Linked DNA regions of Homo sapiens: all the other regions are linked to region 2. Evidence: promoter capture Hi-C in 16 types of primary human blood cells and fetal thymus (Javierre and others, 2016). All regions are on one chromosome and are shown on one strand. The core of a region is centred on a gene start or on the middle of the fragment in contact, and the rest is flanking DNA. Distances in the headings are between cores, read along the strand shown. Region 1 has its middle 55 kb from the start of MIR1273C. Region 2 holds the start of CLDN20 (claudin 20). Region 3 has its middle 9.0 kb from the start of MIR1273C. Region 4 has its middle 63 kb from the start of TIAM2. Region 5 has its middle 33 kb from the start of MIR1273C.

Region 1 (3,900 bases), core at 599-3,098, 360 kb after region 2:
ACAGATACTAAAAGGTACAGTAAACATCTATAAAACAGTAACTATGAACCAATCTACACACTGTGCCAAGCTGCCTCTCTCTGTAACCTTTAAAGAGTCCTCCAAGAGAAAGCCCCGCTATAAAAATGATTGGATTTGATGCCACCGCCATAGTCTGGAATGTTCTTCAATTTTCATACATAGATGCAGAAATAGTGGATTTGGAGAAATCACTAATAATGAATGAAAGGAGGCTTTCTTCTGAAGCATCAAACTTCACGACTTCCTTAACTGCTTATACTTTTAAATCATTTAAAACACAAATTACTCCGGATAAAAGTAATCATCTACGTGTAATTCCTTTGTGGAGGCCATTCTGAAATAGTTTTTCCCCCTCTATGAGGAATTTATGAACCGCAAAGAAATTGCATAAGACCACCCATCTCATTTGAATGAGATCTCTGTATTGGAATTCAAGTGAGAGGCCAGCATTTACTCACAAAGCCAAACAACCCCCATGGGGGATTCTTTCTAATTGTGCAAATACCAAATAGCTCCAGTTTGTCAAAGTCACTTAATACTGTTTTAAAAACCAGCTCGAAATGCTTAACGTCCCTGGAGAACGGTGACTTTCGAAAGCTTTCCTTTGCCATGGACTGAAGCAGGGAGGGAGTGTGGACTGTTCAATATTCATGCCGATTCACACAGAGAGCCTGTCCAGATGCTCAGGTCGAGGGGAGCAGGAGCTTCTGAAGAGGGAATTCATCCAGGGAACAAAAGCATCAACCTCTGCCCCCATTATGCTGCCTTGGGATTTTAAAAAGATTACTCTTCCAACAGATGGGCCTTCGTGTGCACCTGGTCATTGGAAAAGCACCTCCAGCTAAGTGCTGACTGGATATGCACCCAGTGCTGAAGGAATGATCCTCTTTTACCTTCATTTGCTATTCTGTTTCTCCTCTCACCCTATCCAGCGAAAAGAACCTCAGAAACTTCTATTTGTTTTTTTTTCCAATTTAATTTCCCAAATCATTTGCTCATATGTGCACAAGAATGGTGAGGTTAGTCACAAATCCATACTGTTCCTTTGTGGGGGGTAGAGGCTTGAGGGGGTGGGAAGTGGGAGCTAGATGGATGTTTGCCAATTGTAGGTTTAGTTACAAAAGAATAGAAGGAAAGGGATCTTTTCTCATTGCCATATCAAATTTGGTAGAGGTGCCAAGCAAGATCTAAGTTTTCTACATAGGCTCACATGTCTGTGTTTCTCTGGAGCTGTTTTATTTCTAACTGCAATATGATGGAATACATAAAACAATACTCCAACACTACCGGGCAGAGAGTCAAACAAAAAAGATCCTATTGAAAAGCCTATAATTGCCACTATATTACCTATAGCCTTCTCTAGTTTCCTACTTACTACTTAATAGAAAATATAATCAATTTAATAGAAAATCTGCTGTAAGGAGAAACTCAAGAAAGCTTAGGTATAATCCTCAGGAATTAATTTTAATCTGTGTTATAGAATGCATATTCAAAAAGGCCTTGGCATTCAAAAATCTCTTGGCCTTTCAATAAATAAAAAGAGTGGTTGTTCAAATATAGAAAACAACAGTGAAAGGCTTGAACTATGAATCTATCTCTATATCTCTATACATACAAACTGCTCAGTTACTAGGCACAGACAGACCACAAAAGGTGCACTAAGCTACACAGCAAAATAAATGACTAACACCCAAAATTAGTTTCAATTTTTATTATGAATGTCCAAAGTGACAGCATACTGTGAAAATGCTAAGTTCTCATTGATTAAATTTCAAGAGACCACAGACTACAGCATTCCAAGCACTTTAATTTTTGACAGAGCCAAAAACAAATAAAAGAATGATAAAAATATTCTTTTGGGTGTAAAGAGTATTCATATTTGAGTTTTTGTATTTTTTTCTTCCCTGCAGGTATTGTGAACACTGATAATTTCCAAAACATAAATTCTGGTCTGGATACTTGCAGCAAATTTTTATAATCTCTACCTGGATAAGAAGCTAATAAGAAATGTACTTATAAAGTATGTTTACGATACAGTGTGATATGTTTGTTTATCTTCATTTCCTTATCTATCCCATGAGGCTTCTTGTCTACCACCCGGGTACCTGCTGTTGGTAATAACAGGACAGGGAGGCTGAAGTGAAACACTCGAAGACTGTACAGAATCCTGGATTTTCTGAAAGCTGCATTTACTCTTTTTTTTTTAATGAAAGCTTAAGACTTTCAGTGTTTGAGAACGTTCAAGGAGATACCTAATGATAATGGATTAAAGCCACCAATCAAGAACTACACAGTCTACACAGATTGTGTTCAAGAAAAAAAGCCTTGGTTTACTAAAGCTATGTTTCTAGTAATCTGTAGGTCCAACACAATATGACTTTCTTTTTCCCCCCGAAAGGGTTTCCTTGCCATCTGTCCTTTCCATCACTGGTACTGGATGAGCTACAGATGGAGTCTGTTGCCACTGATATTCCAATCAAATCTGGTCCTGGGAAGTGGGTATCTCTTACAGATGCAATACTGTTCATCTGAGTGGATCCCCAAAAAGAACAATTATGAACTAGAAACTCATAGAGTTTGTGTTTAAAATTTATAAAATTAAACCTGCTCCAACAGGTAATACAGGAAGGCATGCTTGCAACCTCTGGATTCAATCAGAAACAATGCCTGAGAGTACAGAGCCTTCTCAATAGGTAACGGCGGGTTCCTTTTAACGCTTCCTTAAACAAGATCCGATGTGATGCACATTAGAACTTTGAAGCACGTCTGTCTCATTTATTTCTACAAGGCCTGGGACACAGGAAGCTGCCAGGACTTCATTCATCATCATCTTGCCTGTTGACAAAAGGAACAATAACTGGTCATCACTGGTCAATGGAATAACTTTTCCTAGTTTTTTCCAAGATCATTCCTAAAGAAAAGATGGTGTCAATACAACAGCAAATGTTTCAATGTTTGATGAATTTCTGTGCTCTAAAATGCCATGCCTTCTTCCAACAGAGCAGGAAGAACCACGTCATGCAGTGTTCATTGCTCTCCAAATGCTGGAATGGTTCAGGAGACAGCCCCGTCCTGGAAGTCAGCTGACCCAGGCTCCACACATGATTCTGCCAATGACTAACACAGTCACCTAAACTTGTTGGGCCTTGGTTCCTTCACATGTAGACTAAAAGGCTTCAGTGGAGCACGTCTAAAAAGAAGGCCATCCAGTGCTACCTTTTAATAGGATCATATGGTCCTGCCTTCTTAGCTCCTTACAGAGCATAACCAGGTATGACCATCTCAAGCTGTGGCTTACAAAATACCTACACCTGGGTGTCCGTGGTCCTCGTTCAGCTTGGAGTTGAGAACCAGGTGAACTTCCAGAGAATTTTCAAAATATTAGCATCTTGAAGTCCATTAAAATCTTAAATGATAGAGTGATGGGTAAAGAATTCTGAAAATACACATCTCCATGTTTTCACATCTTTTGCTGTATTAAGGTCAAAGAAGTGTCTTTTTTTGTCCCTGCTGGCTTTCTTAAATTAACAAATAATCGCATAAAAGCTGAAAAATACATTCATAAGTATAATGACATGGAAGCATTCTGTAAGAGCCTACTATCTAGTTATATAATTCAACTAGTTGGACTAGTTTAAGTAACTCCGCCAAGTAACTTTACCAAGACACATGTCTGGTAGCAGACATGGGACCTAAACATAGTTAAGTCTCACCCTAAAATGAATACTTTTTTTTTTTTTTCCTTTGAGATGGAGTCTTGCTCTGTCGCCCAGGCTGGAGTGCAGTGGCACAATCTCGGCTCACCGCAACCTCCGCCTCCCGGGTTCAAGCGATTCTCTTGCCTCAGCCCCGAGTAGCCGGGACTACAGGCAGGCGCCA
Region 2 (4,118 bases), core at 1,599-4,098:
TTTTTTTTTTTTTTGAGACGGAGTCTCGCTCTGTCGCCCACCCTGGAGTGCAGTGGCACGATCTCAGCTCACTGCAAGCTCCGCCTCCCAGGCTCACGCCATTCTCCTGCCTCAGCCTCCCAAGTAGCGGGGACTACAGGCGGCCGCCACCACGCCTGGCTAATTTTTTGTATTTTTTAGTAGAGACGGGGTTTCACCGTGTTAGCCAGGATGGTCTCGATCTCCTGACCTCATGATTCGCCCGCTTTGGCCTTCCAAAGTGCTGGGATTACAGGTGTGAGCCACAGCGCCCAGCCTCATTTGGTCATTCTTAACTGTGAGCGAGACTGGGGAAGTTTGTATCTGGCTTTTCATCCCCCCTGGTGAGCTGTATCCAGCAGGGACTCAGGCTGGCTTTGTGGGTGTCACAGGGCTCTAGCTGCACTTCTAGTGAATTTAATCTCCAGGATTTGAGTTGACTGTGTGATACTTTCCCAAGCAACTAGGATTGTTCCCCAAACCTGTGATTCTCATTTCTGCCCACACGAGGGCTTTGGAAAAGCCCCAAGAGGCTCAGGCCCAACCCAGTGGCTTTTATTTAATTTTCTGGGATGGAGCCCCATCCTTGTATTTTTCAAATGCTGTCCATTTAATTCTAATGAAAAGTTGGGGTTCTGAATTTTAAAAAAAATGTTGTGATGGTTAACACTGAGTGTCAACTTGATTGGATTGAAGGATACAAAGTATTGATCCTGGGTGTATCTGTGAGGGTGTTGTCAAAGGAGATTAACATTTGAGTCAGTGAGGTGGGGAAGGTAGACCCGCCCTCAATCTGGGTGGGCACCATCTAATCAGCTGCCGGCTCAGCTAGAATATAAGTGGGCAGAAAAATGTGAAAAGAGAGACTGGCTTAGCCTCCCAGCCCACATCTTTTCTCACGTGCTGGATGCTTCCTATCCTCAAACATTGGACTCCCAAGTTCTTCAGTTTTGGAACTTGGACTGGCTCTCCTTGCTTCTCAGCCTGCAGATGGCCTATTGTGGGACCTTGTGATCATGTGAGTTAATACTTAATAAACTCTTCTTTATATATATATTTAATATTTACATATTATATATTAAATATATATTATATATTATATATAATATATATTTATATTATATATAAATATATTTAATATTTATATTTAATAAACTCATATATATATATTCCATTAGTTCTGTCCCTCTAGAGAACCCTAATACAAATGTTTTTTCTTCTTTGCTTTCCATTCAATCTTGAAAATAATGACAGTTCAGAGTAAGATAAAATAGTTACCTGTTCCAGCCCTACAAATTTAAAGTGATTTGACCTAATCCTAAAATAATGTTCTTCTTCTGTCCCAGCCTTAGGAAATTAACAGTATCAGCTATGAATATACGAATGTACTGACCAAGCATCTTCAGTGTGATGTCTAGTCCGTTTGATAATTATGGTTTATTATGAATTACTATATTTGTATGCATGTTCTATTTCTCAGTCTTTTAATAATATTACTAGCAGCATTTATCAAGTGCCTTCTGAGTTTGTTTAGATTGAGAGCCTCTCTGAGGTCCTGTCTTCTCTCTGAGGGACGGGAGTTGCTCAGGACCTGCAGCGCTGGGGTCCAGACCCTGGCAGTTGCCAATGTGCTGCCACACCCATGGCCCGGCTGGGCAGCCTCGAAGCTGCCTCAGGCAGCTCCTGCCACATCCACAAACCCAAGCGGGAGCACAGCCCGGGACAGGAAACACAGGGCACGTCCAGATGCTGCTGCTTCACAGACACCAAGGGCGTGGTTTGTGGAAAAGGCCTAGTTTTAGGAAGGTCTTTTCCCTCTGATCATCCAGGAACTCCAGATTAAATGTAACAGAAAACCTTTATACAACAATTGTCAGTTCTTGTTCCATTTGTGCTTTCTTGAGGATTACACGTGCATCTCCCTGAAATTGTTTAATCTCTTGGGACCAAGAGACACTGACTCATCTTGTTGTTGTTATTACTAATAGGTGTAATTTACATACATACATATGTACATTTACATAATTTACACAGTAAAAAAACTCTTCATCCCCCTCACCACATTTCTTAGTCTTATTTCTCTTGTGATCTGAGTTTGCTGTCATTCTCTTGGCCTCAGTTCTTCCTACCACATCTGCTCTGAGAGGAAACACTATGTGACTGTTTAAAATCTGTTCTTTTTTTATGATCCCAAGAAGAAAGAGAAAAAAACAAAGATCTGTAGGAAGAAAAAAGGGTGAGGACAGAACTTCTGCAGAAATAAATATTGTTACAATAACACAAATTGTAAACTTTAGGATAGGTACTGACCGTGTAGTTGATCTTTATTGAACCAGTTGGTTTGAAATACTTAGAATGCTGTCAGCTTTAAGGTTTTACAGTGGAAATTCTTTCCTTAAATTGGCTTTTGGACATGGATCACAGGTAGAGTGAACCAATTCCAGAAAATGTGATCTACATTCACATTTGTCAGTATTTTCTTTTTCTATGACATGCATAATTATCATATCACAGGCATCAGTGACTTGCTGCCTCTACCTGGGATTCTCCTTACCTGGGAAAGTTGTAACCTCGAGGCCCGTGATGTCCTAAAGTGGACTGTCATTAGCTTGGTGGAGGTACTTGAAGAGCAAGCAGACACTGGAGGGTGGGGAAACCAAGCATCCGGAGGCACTCATCTTGCTCCGTTGTTTTACCCGACAGTGAAGTGGCTCTCCCAAGCCCCTGTCCTCCTGCGTTCCATTTTGTGGTGCCTATAGCCTGCAAGATGCCATATGCTTCCTGTTCCCAACCACCCAGGTCTGCCCGTGATCATCCCACTTCGAACTTTGAATCCTTCTTATATGTTGTTCTTTAAAGTCTTACTGATTATTCCCTGTGGTCTTTTTTTTTTTTTTCACTAGCCCTTCTGTTGTCTTAAGTTATGGCTGTGTCTTGGCTATTTACATAGTAACTTCCTCATCATTTTTTCATCTCCACTATCTTGTCCTCTAATGGTCTTGAACACCGTGAGAGTGTTGAATGAAGACCCTTTTGTAGACAGTGGCCAGCATTGTTTCTGTGTCTGTGCATGTGGTCGTGACTTAGCTTTTGGGCATATGATAATCATCAGGAACTGAGTTGTACGTCTCTTCAGTGTCCTCTGTATATCATGTTGATTACAGTTCTCAGTTGTAATATCTAATATCTAAGATTTAAGATTTAATATCTCCTTAGCCCGGGTCCCTTGTGAGTTCCAAGTGCTGCTCTGAGCTGATAACCAGTCACGTCCTAGACACCCTGGCCTGGAAACTAGGACATCTGCCTCGGGCCTGTTATGGCCAAGGCTGCTAACACTGAGAAACAGTCTTAGCTTGTTACAGCGTTGACGTATAGGGTTAGAAAGGCAAATATTTAAATTCATTTTAAATCCTTTCATTTGAAATTTTAGTAGGTCATTTTGGTATACTGATGGACTGAGTTTGGAAAAGGCTGGCGGCATTAAACTAGAATATTTTAAGTACTTCTGATGCCTTTGTACTGATTTCTTTTTTGTAATCAAACCCATTAATAGACTTAAAACTCAAGGAAGAAAAAATAATACTTGTAATTTTAAATAAGCATTCAATTATAAGTAAAAAACATTTTTGTATTCGTTACCATAGTTACCAAGCAGCTTTCCTATAGTTCTAGAAAAAAATGGGCTCCATCATTCAGAGTAATTCTGAAAGGTGCCTTTGGGGGAAAGGGAGAGGAAGGGGTGGTACAGGAGAGGTCCTGGCCGTCCCAGAAGCAGGAGACATAACTGGAAGAGCTTTGTTGACGCTGAGTTTTACAGAATCTCCCACTAAATAGTAACTGCATTTGTGAGGGGAATTCTCTTTTAGCCGTGACATAATATAAGCCAACTTAACAGAGTATTGGAATTGTATTCAAACTTTAGAAGTCGACGCTATAGTTTACATGGGGTACTACTATATTTGTTCAGGGTTTTAAAACTTTATTTAAATCAAGCAAAAGTTAGACACTTCCTGTATTTGCAAATACCAACTATATCTCAAAGGAATGAAATCAGGCAAATAAAGATGAGGCCAAAATTTAAAATCTAAGGAAGCTGAAAG
Region 3 (3,810 bases), core at 372-2,871, 400 kb after region 2:
ATTTGTACAAATCCTCAAGATACTCGAATGACAAGTTCTGTGCTTAGGACAACATTCTCCATGAGGACAAAGAAGGCAGTAAAACAGTTTCAAGAACCACCACAATTCAAACATGTAACACTGCTTTTAAATGCTGATCAAATGTTAAGGCTCCAAAATGCTATAATTAAGAGATTCGTTTTTTTCCTTTATTTTTTGAAAGCATTGTTTAAAAAACAAGAAAAGTAACTATGTTATCCAATATGAAATTCCACAACATGAATTTTCAGCTTAGCAACTAGTCTAGGTAATGATTAACTGGAATAAGGCAATGACAGGAAGAAAACCCAAACCAGGTGGAGCTGTGGCTACAAACTACAGAATGCTCACCTGCCTAAGGGGGACACAGAAGGGAGAGTCTGGGACCGAAGAGCAAGAATTCCATGTGGACTTGGAGTTCCTGACCATTCAGCAGTCATTCATTTCAGTTAAAGGTAGACTTCGCTCTCGTGAAAATGTGCGTGTGAGTGAGAGTATATGAGGAACCTCAAGAAAGAGAGAAAGATAACTTTTTAAAAATTCCCTGGAAGATATTGGGGTAGGCTAATTTAAAAATCAATAAAAAGAAGCAGAAAAGAAAGCCAGGACAACGAAAACTCCACTTATTTTACAGTTTCCTCTGAGACTGGCAACACATTTTACAGATTACATTCCCAAAGTGTGTGTGTGTGTGTGTGTGTGTGTGTGTGTGTGTGTGTGTGCACGCATTCATGCATGTATGCAACTATGCATTTAAAGACTCAATTTTATCAGCAATGAGAATGATTTTACAATTTTGCTGTCTTTGTGGCTGTAACCTTTACTGAGTCAATTCTCTTATCCACTTTCAAAGACTTATCATCTTGGGAAACTGAAATAGTAATACTCCTAATCTTCTGGCAAAGCTAACCATCAAATGATCAGTAAAGAATTTGCCCCTCATGAGTATATAACAAAGTCAAATTCCTGCACTAGTTAAATTATCTGGCAATGGCAAAATTCTGTTGGTGATTACAAAATGAGAGAAATGTAATAACATTCCAAATAAGTCCTTTAAAATTAAAACTACAAGGAACTTTAAATTAACAATTAAGAGTATGCACCAAGGGAGATGCATCTAATACCACATAACTAATAAAATGAATTGACAGTCCTGAAGGTATGAGCGTTTATCCTTTAAAGGTGTCAAAATGTTTTATATTCAGCTAAAAGATTTCATGCTACTATGACCAAATTTAATGGAGACATCTTCATTTCTGAAGCAGAGCATCTATAGCAGAGTCTCCAGATGCTCTATTTCAATAAAAGCACAATGCAATCTAACAGCAGATTTGAAAATCAAATGATTTCCAGAAAACCGGTAACCGGAAAAACTGAAAACTGATTTTTGCTATAGCTAATGAATTTTTTAATTTTTTCACTTGGTAGTAAAGCTGTGTCAGGAACATTTTGTCTTTTGGCAGCTAGTAGGAATTTCAAAATCCCGCTTTCTCCTTGGAAACGTATTGATTAGGTCTTTTTTTTTTAAGAGGGAGTTTCGCTCTTGTTGCCCAGGCTGGAGTGCAATGGCGTGATTTCGGATCACCGCAACCTCGCCTCCTGGTTCAAGTGATTCTCCTGCCTCAGATGGGATTACAGGCATGCACCATCATGCCCGCCTAATTTTGTATTTTTAGTAGAGACGGGGTTTCTCCATGTTGGTCAGGCTGGTCTCGAACTCCTGACCTCAGGTGATCCACCTGCCTCGGCCTCCCAAAGTGCTGGGATTATAGGCATGAGCCACTGCACCCGGTCTGATTAAGTCTTTTATGGCTGAGGCTGTACTTAACACCCACCTTGATGGGATCCAGTTAGTCACTTGTTTCTCATTTAAATATACAACTAAGTTGCAAACTACAAAGCTACACAGTCTACATCCAGCTAACTACACTATATATAGTTTGATGTATAATCAATGTACATTATGACGGAATCTTGAAATACTACTAGCTACAAAATGCTTTCTCCTTTCTTTGAAAAAGACTTGCATTTTTAAAGCCAGTGGAAAACAATCCAAATTAAAAATCAACACAACAGATATACAGAAAAAAAAGAGCTAGGCACAAATTTGCCTTGTTAAAATGCTTTTCTTAGAAAGATGATAGCTTGCACATTTCCAACTAATCCACCTGATGCACAGAGCATTACTGCTGCCTCTGTCTCTTCTTGAACAAACACAGGCCTTGGGCTTTACAGACTAATTCAAATGTGTATAAATCAATTGCTTCCTTCCTGCTGTTGCTCTTTTCAGATAGCAGACAAGAGGCTCTAGTTTAAGGATGGCAGTCAGGATGGACACATTAGAAAGAAACATTTTAGTTTCAATGTTACCATAAAACCAGAACGAAAAGCAGCATGCTGTATTATATTTTACAATTTAGGTTCCATTTCTAACTCCACCTAAAATGAATATGAACAAACTCATTTTTAAGTGTTTGTCAGTCAAATACAATAATAGTCTAAGTTTATTCACATATGTACCAACCAAAGCCCAATAAAGCTAAAAGGAAGCCAAGTGTAATAAAAAGGCAGCTATAAGGTCTTGTGTTTGAATTTTTACCCAGCAAGAAATAAATGATACTTAGTAATCCATCTTTCCCCCCCACTGCCATCCCTGCACACATCTAAAATAGGCTAACTTCACCTATTCTAACTTCTGAAATTGTTTTGGAATTCCTGTTTTAATTTTTTTTTTTTAAGACTGGATGGTTAAGTTACTAGAATTTTTAGATACAGGTTCGATGGTCATTATAATATACTCTAAGGAGGGGTCTAATTATTATAGGGGATTTCAAATTTGCAGTCCAACAGGCAGAGTAGAAATCATTCAATTCTAGAAATTGGTATCATTAGCATTCTTATAGAAGAAAAATTTAATGAGATTTGACAGATTAAACATATACACCACAGGCTGGGGTGCTATGTGAACAATATTCAACCCTTCAAAGGGGGAACCGTTTTACTAGGTAACAAGAATTGCTTGCACTGTGAGAAATAGTGCAAAACTAACCCAAAAACACCAGCAGATTATTTAACGTTCTTTTGGCTTCCACCTAATAAGATACCATAAATAATATGGTCTACTGGGAAATGTTCCATATAGAAATAACCTAATACATAAGAAATGAGAAGGTTCCTTGCTAGAGTAACTCTATAGAAAATTAGAATTCTTTCATCAGTGGGTCTCAAAATGTAGTATGCATATAAATTACCTGGATTGCTGGGTAAAGATGCAGGTTTCCTCCACCTACTCCCAAAGCTTTTAGCTCTATTAGGTCTTGGGAAGGGCTCAGCCTGAATTTTAAACAAATCCTTTGGGTATTCTAATACAGGTATCCATGGTCCACACATTGAGAAACACTGATCTTAAAGGTGTGAGACATCCTTTATAGCTGGCCTCTTCTGTAGGGTGATTCCACGGGGGCGGTGCGCTCTGTCCAAAAGTGTGAATTACCTGCCATTTCATCATTAACCTATAATGAAAATTTGACAAGGAAAGCTCTTGGTTTACAAAAGTCACTTATTAAAGTGAGAATTTGTGTTTTTTAAAAAAGAGATTATTCCCCAAATCACAAACTCACTGAATAACAGCTGATTGTCTAGAATCTATTATGATAGCTAAACAATCTACTATAATATTAGGGTCTATGGGGACAATGAAGAAAGACATGGGGGAAAACAGAGGGAAAAAAAAGGCAAAAGGCAATAATCTATTTATAATTCTGCCTAGACCCAGCCTTATGTGTCATATAA
Region 4 (3,765 bases), core at 284-2,783, 330 kb after region 2:
TTTAATTTTGCTTGGGATCAATATGTTAAGGCCACTGGTGTAAATACCAAAGAAGAAATGAGGAATTCCTATTTGAAATGAAGTACAAATGACTTTCCTCCTTCTCTTCCTTTTATCCTTCCATCCTTCCTTTCTTTTGAAACAGGGAGAAACTTACTTGTATGACTGGTAGATGTCATTATTGTATATATCTGAACACATTAAGCAATCCATTAAAAAATCCATTTCGACAAAGTGAAATTAACTTTAGAGTTATTCATCTAGTCTTTACTTACCCAGCAAAAGAGGGTAAGATGTGGAAACTGCCCTCAAGAAATTCATAACTAGAGGCTACATTTTAGCTAGTTAGTCCTGCCATCTCCCTCAAAGTAAGATATTCCAACCTACAGATATTTATTAGGGAGAAATGTAAATAAATAACTTAATTATTTAATCAAATAGATCATAAGTCCACAACTCCCTCTAGGCTAAAACTGGTGACTTTCTCAAGAAAAAATGACTTAGCTAAAGCCCAAACGACAGAGAAGTAGACTAGAGTGTGTATGTCTGCAGATTCATTTCTGTACATGAATATTCACCGGGAGAGGCGGATGAGCATGGATACAGATGCTTGTCACTGCTATGGCCACATCCAGGTGAGCCAAGAGGCTGCAGAGCAGGTGGAAACTGCTAATGAAGTTTCCTGGCCAAAGATGATGTTGGGGTGGGTCTGTTGTCTTCCCCCACACCTGGGATCCACTGGCTCACCCACTCTGTGACTGGGGCTCCCAGGAGGCCCAGTCCCCTTCTCCCTGGAGCCTCTGCTGGCCCCTACACTAAGCTTCCCGGCACCCCCATCCCCATCCTGGAGATGGCCTGCTGTGATGACAGGACTGGTTCTAGAAAGCAGGGCTCGTTCCACATCCTTCTTACACTAACTCCATCTTTTCCCTGGGAGATGCTCGCAGGCTCTGCAGTTCAGTCAGGTTTTGTGTCTTGAAGTCTTCAAACTTCTTCAGACAAAAACCTCATGAAGTAAGCGCTGGGGGATGTTATCTTCATTTCACAAAAGAGAAAGCTGAGATGCAGAGCGGCTCACCAAAAAGATATTTAGTCAGTAAAAGCCATTCCAGTAAGTTATGAGAAAAACCAAAGATATGCCATGAAAGTTTGAGGAAAGCACATTCCAGAGTGGCGGTTTCCCCCTCTGTAAAAGGCAAAGGCCCATCCACGCTCCCACAACGGCCATCGCCATTTCAGAATCTGAAACAAAATGTGCTTCCCAGCTCTTTTCTTGCATAAAATAAACAGCACCACGTTTGAAATCATTATGTAAAATTAACTTCAAAGAAACAAGAAACACAGCCTAATAAAGGGGGGGGAGTTTCAGAAGTACCATTTTCAGAAGTACCATTCTCTCATATCCAACCCCCACCACTTTTCCAACTGAATGCAATTTTTGCCCAGAGAGCAACTTTGTCTGCAGAGACTACCCTATACTTGGGAAGGAAGAATGTAAGTAACAAGGTGCAAGCATCAGCATAAGTTGCAACTTCAAAAGGAATATAATCACCGTTTCTGTAAACTCTCCCTTCCAGATAAACAACTGTGTTCCCAGGTTGAAGATGAGTCATGTCCCATCCCCAGAGTCCTCCAAACCACACATTCCTCTTCCTGTCCCTGGCAGTCATTTGCATACATCCTAACCTAAACCAGGGCCGCTTATAAAAGAGCTTGTGTTGAACTTTCTTCTATTTAATTCCAGTGCTTTCTTCCAGCTACCCAATCTGTATGTAATTAAAATCATATTGCAGCAAATGTTGAATGGTATGAAAAGTTTTACCATATGTATACAATTGACTAGTTGTAGAATTTGGCATGTCTGCAATGATCCCATTAACAAGGAGCGAGCCTGGCTTATTTTGGAGTGCACGTTATATGCTTTGGATAGGTTCTGTTTTTAACTTGTTCTAACACTGCCCGTGATGTTTAACCCTTTGTTAGCGGTCAACAAGAAGTGTTCCTGCATTTCAACAATGAGGACCACTGTACCCTGATCAAAACCTCAGGTCAAAAACAATTTGTCTAGTGGAGGAAGTTTCCTTTGAAAAATTTCCATTTTCTAAACTAAAATTAGCCTGCTCAGTCTTGACAAAGGCTGAGCAGATACCATCAGAGCCTCTGGGATCAAGCTGAACCGAATGGAGAAAATACAGATGTAATCATCGCTTCCAAATACTGAGACCCAGGGTGCTCCTTGAAGCTTGAAAGAAATGATTTTAGGACAAAAAGAGGAAGTACTGTACTACTGCAGATAATAAGCATTTGAAACTTATGTCCCAAGAGGTAGCAGATAAACTATAAATAAATTCAAGAAGGAGTTAGCAAAGGTCATGCTGAAGATCTACCTTTGAGGAACATTCCTGACATTCTGTGACTGACACAAGGGAAGGAAAACATCTTTCCGCCTCATCACCCTCCCCACCCCACCCACCTTTCCCACACAACAATTGAAAAAACTGGGGCCTTTGTCAGAGGAAGAATACAAGGTCAGATAAGCCTTTGGTCTGACTCTCTGGGTCAAGACTTGATAAAATTTGTAGATAATAGAGCTGACCAGTTGCAATTTTGCTTTAAAGACATTCTTCAGTAAAGACTGCAGAATGAGTTGAAGTCTTTCTCAACATGTGCCATGAAGAAACATATGTTCTTAATCTGTGGGTTTAAAATTGTTTTAGAATTACATCGATGAGACATATCCTCAAAAGAAAAATCAGGCCACCAACCCCAAACACAAGAGTATAAGAGCAGTGTAGGATAATACTTCTTTCTAGCTTAACGTCTTACAACAAATCTGTTGTAAAAGTTCTTTAAAAAGGAACGTTCATCTGGAGCTTAAAAATATGCATACAGGAGATTTGACAGAGGGTATTAGTTTCTCGCTACAGGCAGGAGCCCCACTAAGCTGATCTGAGGATACAGTAAAGGCAAAGGTACGCAGCACCTCCAGGAAAGGGAGGTGGAGAAAGAAATGCCTTCATTACATTCATCAGATCAAGTTCTCAAATCAGAATTCAAATCCTCAGTTCTCAGTGCTGAATGTTAAGCCACGGAACGTTAAGATTAGAAAACCGCCAAATGAACCTAAACAATTCATCCCTTAAAAAGGAGATGGTATTGTGACCAAACTTTCTTCTTTAAAGTTGGGTACCTGGGTCAGGTATGGTGGCTCATGCCTGAAATCCCAGCACTTTGGGAGGTCGAGGCGGGTGGATCACTTGAGGTCAGGAGTTTGAGACCAGCCTGGCCAACACGATGAAACCCCAACCCTACTAAAAATATCAAAATTAAAAGAGAAAAAAAAAATTAGCCTGGCGTGGCGGCACATGTCTGTAATCCTAGCTACTTGGGAGGCTGAGGCAGGAGAATGGCTTGTATCCAGGAGGTGGAGGTTGCAGTGAGCCGAGATCATCCCACTGTACTTCAGCCTGGGCGACAGAGAGAGACCCTGTCTCAAAAAAAAAAGGAATTGCTCTGAGACCAGTCCAGACAGTGCTGCCTCCATCACCACGCATGGCTTAACTGACACAGAAACACAAGATGCTTTCACCTAAACAAGGCCTCTGTGTTACCCAGACAGAGCGTTCACAATGTGGGAAGCCCCCATTTTCTCAGCCCCGGAAATCTGTTAAATCCTATCAATGCAGGAAATTGAAAAATTCTCTTCTCAGGAGATGGTTAGGCTGAGAACTGATAAGTGGTGCGGTGAGGGGAATCTGCCTGGAG
Region 5 (3,641 bases), core at 193-2,692, 380 kb after region 2:
AGCCCCTTGACCCTGGACTTCTCAGCCTCCATAACTGTAGGAAATAAATTCCTTTTATTTATAAATTACTGTTTTAGGTATTCTATTAAAAGCAAACTAAAACAGCTTTCGGATTCAAAACTCTGTCCACTAAATTCATCTCAGAACCCTTTGAAATCTGTCTTCCAAAAAATGTTCTAGTAAGAGCAGCACTTTAGGTATATGTGATCAATGACATGTATTATGCACAGTCTTATACTTGATAACACCCACCCATTTGCTTTACACTCTGCCTCTGCGATGGATTCCCATCAGCACCCTGGACAGACGGGCATCATTATCCCCATTTTCGAAGAGAGTAGGCCTATGGCTCAAGGCAACATATTGTGTAAGTGGCAAAACCAGGCTGAAAGCCCAGCTCTGGGGACTCCAGAACGAATGATGCCTCCTCTACTCTACACTGTCTGGTACTCTTTAAAACAATTTTCTTTTTGCAGTGTTTTATTCTGTATGGCAAACAGAATTCTCCTGTTTTTTTAAGAATAAAAAATGCTCGGATTTAGAATCATGTGATTTATTTTTTCCATACTTACCTCTATCTTATACTATTTTCTACAGTATGCATTATTTGTATGATTTAAAAAATAGGATCATAATGAAAAAATAAATAGGAATATTCTGAGACCCAATTTTATCTATATAAAGGGACAGATAAAGACTCTTAAAATTTAACAAAAGTTTAAAAAATTACAAAAGGAAAATTTTGCAAAATTGAGAAGCTTCATAAGTGGAATTTTATTATAAAAATGGGAGATACACTTGCTTATTTTTTAAAGAGGCATCTAGTTGGGTGGATTGGGTGGGTGTGTGGACAGGACTGGCTAAACTTAGGTCTCCGTCTCATACCATGTGGCCACAGGTCCAGGGAGCCTGGGCTGACAACTCTCTTGTGTGCACCCATTTTAAACAAACCCCCAAATAGATGGGGTTTAGAGTTGACAGACAGATATGTCCAGGACTGGAGTCTAGCTTCTAAAGGGAACAGGAGCGATGTTCTGTTTATCACTCCTCTGCTATTCAACTCCTTCATGGGAGCAAGTATGACTAATGTATGTGGGCACATAGTGGACCTGGGCCCATGTGCTTTAGTAAATTCATTACCTAATTAATGTGAACACGTGGGGAGTTTTTCTAAATATATTCTAACAACATACACTGATTATATGTGCATCGTATAAATCTCATATGTACAAACTCGAAACATGGTTTTAAAGGAATGTGGAAAATTCTCAGGCATGCTGAGACCTATCCAGTGTTAGTTAGTTAAAGGAGAAAATCAGGACTAAGACCTAAACCCTACTCTAAAAAACTTAATCTAAATTGTTTTTAGACTACTGAGTTAATCTAAGTAGCTTAGTTCTAGTCAAGGCAAGTCTCAGTTTGGAAATCAAGTGTTCATGGTATACACTACAAACAGGAACATTTGTCAATTGAACAGTTATGTAGATTCATATGTATATTTCATATTTTAAAAAGTTACATAGATCAATGATTTGGCAGCTGGCTGAAATAATTCCATATTTAAAAATCTGCTGGGTGCATCTGTTAGCAGTTTTGAGTTTCTAATGCAGACTAACAATTTGGTGATAGCAAGCTGTCTTCTTATTAATGTTCCAAAAAACACTGTATTTCAAGATTTTTAGAAGGGGAGCCAACATTTTCTGGGATTTAGTTAAGTGAAGCATCACCATATCTTTTGCCTTTCATAAGTCTCTCATGTCTAGGATTAATAAGCAGTATGTCTTGAAAAGTGTTATCTGACTTTCTAAAAAAGATGAACTGGGACTCATAAATAGGTGGCTGACCTGCATTTACTCTTTCCCAGCCTAAAAGATAAAGTCATTTAAAAGATGTAAAACTACCATCACATTATATTTACATCATTCCCTTTCTCAAAATTATGGGATTTCCCTTGTCCTTTGCCCTTAGCCAAGTTTGAATCAAAGACTTAGGAAACATTCACCCTCCCAAAGAGGTCTATTTAGTTTCCTTGGCTTGCTTCCCCACCCCTCACAGCCATCTTTTTGTAAAATCACATGCCCTACCATCTTCAAAAGCCTTGAGACTAACCTTCCTGATGAAGCTTTTTAGCTGGATCCCTCTTAGCCACCAGATGGGGCCCAGGGAGTCGCAGACAGTATACCACGCACATGCGGTTTCCATGCCTTCCTGCCTCCTGGACCACTGCACCCGAGCTTTCAACTGGAGGAGGGCAAGGTCTTTTCCTTAACTTCTCAAGCATCCAATACAATGCTTGGCCACTCAATTATTTGCTGGGTTAACAAATAAATGAACAAAGCCTACACCCCAACTGATGACCAACATGTGCTCATTTTTTAGTTTCAACATTTCCTTTTTCTACACTATATCAAATAATAATGTAGAACATCTGAAATTCTACACGAATGCATTTTTAATTTGAAAATGAAAAAAAGGAGTAGAAAAAGTCTCTTATAGTCTGACACATTTTCTACTTCATCTTACAGTTTTTAGTTTATAAATTGTCATGTCTGTGAGAGTACAAGCTTTATGAATGTAGAACTAATGTCGTATCCAAACTTTATCGACTATAAAACCAGTGTAGTGTCATGCACAGGCACCCGAAAATTATTGAAGGAATGCCTAGAAGGCTGGGCAGGATGTTCTTTACGTTCCTTTGGTGAGAAAGAAAGAAGAGGCAGGTAATTAAAGAGAATATGTTTATATGCAAAAGGCTATCCTTGGGTGAGAAGGAAGATGCAGACAGTTAAAGAGATTATGTGTATGTACAAAAGGCTATTACTAGAATTACTATCAGAACAAGCAGTGAAAAAGAGGAAATGAGGAGCACAAAGTGGGCATTATCTTGGCAAGAAAACATGGGAAGTGAAGTATCTTTCTTACATGCTGATCTAGGTAGGTCCCCACACAGGCCACCGTATGACAGCATAGTGGCTTCAGGGAGGACTGGGTGAAGAAACAGTAGTAGGTCAGTGATCATTCAGTCTCTGGGACAGTCAATGGACAGACGTTTACAGCTCTGAGTGCTAAACTGCTACTGTGTGAAGCCAAATATAGGCAGTTAAAAAAACTAATCATTTTTGCCAGTTTTGCTGATGTTAAAATTGTTGTCTGATACCAACCATGCCAGTAAAAAAAGAGCATTAGGTGAATTTTACTTTTTTCTATATGTTTTTGTCACTTCAGTAGAACTAGAATCTCTACTGAAATTATTTATTTTTTGAAATGGAGTCTCTCTCTGTGACCAATGCTGGAGTGCAGTGGCACGATCTCGGCTCACTGCAACCTCCCCCTCCCAGGTTCAAGTCATCCTCCTGCCTCAGCCTCCCAAGTAGATGGGATTACAAGTGTGAGCCACCATGCCTGGCTCATTTTCCTGTTTTCAGTAGAGACAGGGTTTCACCATATTGGCCAGGCTGGTCTCAAGCCCCTGGCCTCAAGTGATCCACCCTCCTCGGCCTTCCAAAGTGCTGGGATTACAGGCATGAGCCACTGTGCCTGGCCTCATCTACTAAAATACTTTAAGTATATGGTGGGTACCTAAGATCTATTTGCTGAATGAATGAATGGTTTCTCACCAAGTCCTTAATATTTAGAATATT

What was found. The method cuts DNA at HindIII sites, captures the fragments that hold promoters and counts their contacts. A CHiCAGO score of 5 or more calls a contact.
Region 1: a fragment that was not itself captured here is called in contact with the fragment with the promoter of CLDN20 in region 2 in 7 of 17 cell types (M2 macrophages, megakaryocytes, M0 macrophages and 4 more); the score reaches 7.0 in M2 macrophages.
Region 3: a contact is called between a fragment that was not itself captured here and the fragment with the promoter of CLDN20 in region 2, in 1 of 17 cell types (M2 macrophages). The highest score is 5.0, in M2 macrophages.
Region 4: a fragment that was not itself captured here is called in contact with the fragment with the promoter of CLDN20 in region 2 in 8 of 17 cell types (M1 macrophages, M0 macrophages, M2 macrophages and 5 more); the score reaches 8.6 in M1 macrophages.
Region 5: a fragment that was not itself captured here is called in contact with the fragment with the promoter of CLDN20 in region 2 in 3 of 17 cell types (M2 macrophages, endothelial precursors and M1 macrophages); the score reaches 7.5 in M2 macrophages.

The regions. Positions count from the first base shown.
Region 1 is chr6:154,906,686-154,910,585 of GRCh38, reverse strand. No RefSeq gene overlaps it. Among named protein-coding and RNA genes, the nearest start is that of MIR1273C, 55 kb to the right of the region's middle. The HindIII fragment of the contact is 776 bases long and covers 1,461-2,236 here.
Region 2 is chr6:155,262,743-155,266,860 of GRCh38, reverse strand. CLDN20 (claudin 20) reads right to left here and starts at 2,848. Exons shown (of 2, transcript NM_001001346.3): 1 at 2,573-2,848. The region is part of intron 5 of TFB1M (transcription factor B1, mitochondrial); the gene reads left to right. The HindIII fragment of the contact is 9,121 bases long and covers 1-4,118 here.
Region 3 is chr6:154,860,458-154,864,267 of GRCh38, reverse strand. No RefSeq gene overlaps it. Among named protein-coding and RNA genes, the nearest start is that of MIR1273C, 9.0 kb to the right of the region's middle. RefSeq lists silencers at 199-493, 726-926. The HindIII fragment of the contact is 3,395 bases long and covers 1-3,318 here.
Region 4 is chr6:154,930,738-154,934,502 of GRCh38, reverse strand. No RefSeq gene overlaps it. Among named protein-coding and RNA genes, the nearest start is that of TIAM2, 63 kb to the left of the region's middle. The HindIII fragment of the contact is 1,422 bases long and covers 823-2,244 here.
Region 5 is chr6:154,884,673-154,888,313 of GRCh38, reverse strand. No RefSeq gene overlaps it. Among named protein-coding and RNA genes, the nearest start is that of MIR1273C, 33 kb to the right of the region's middle. The HindIII fragment of the contact is 1,364 bases long and covers 761-2,124 here.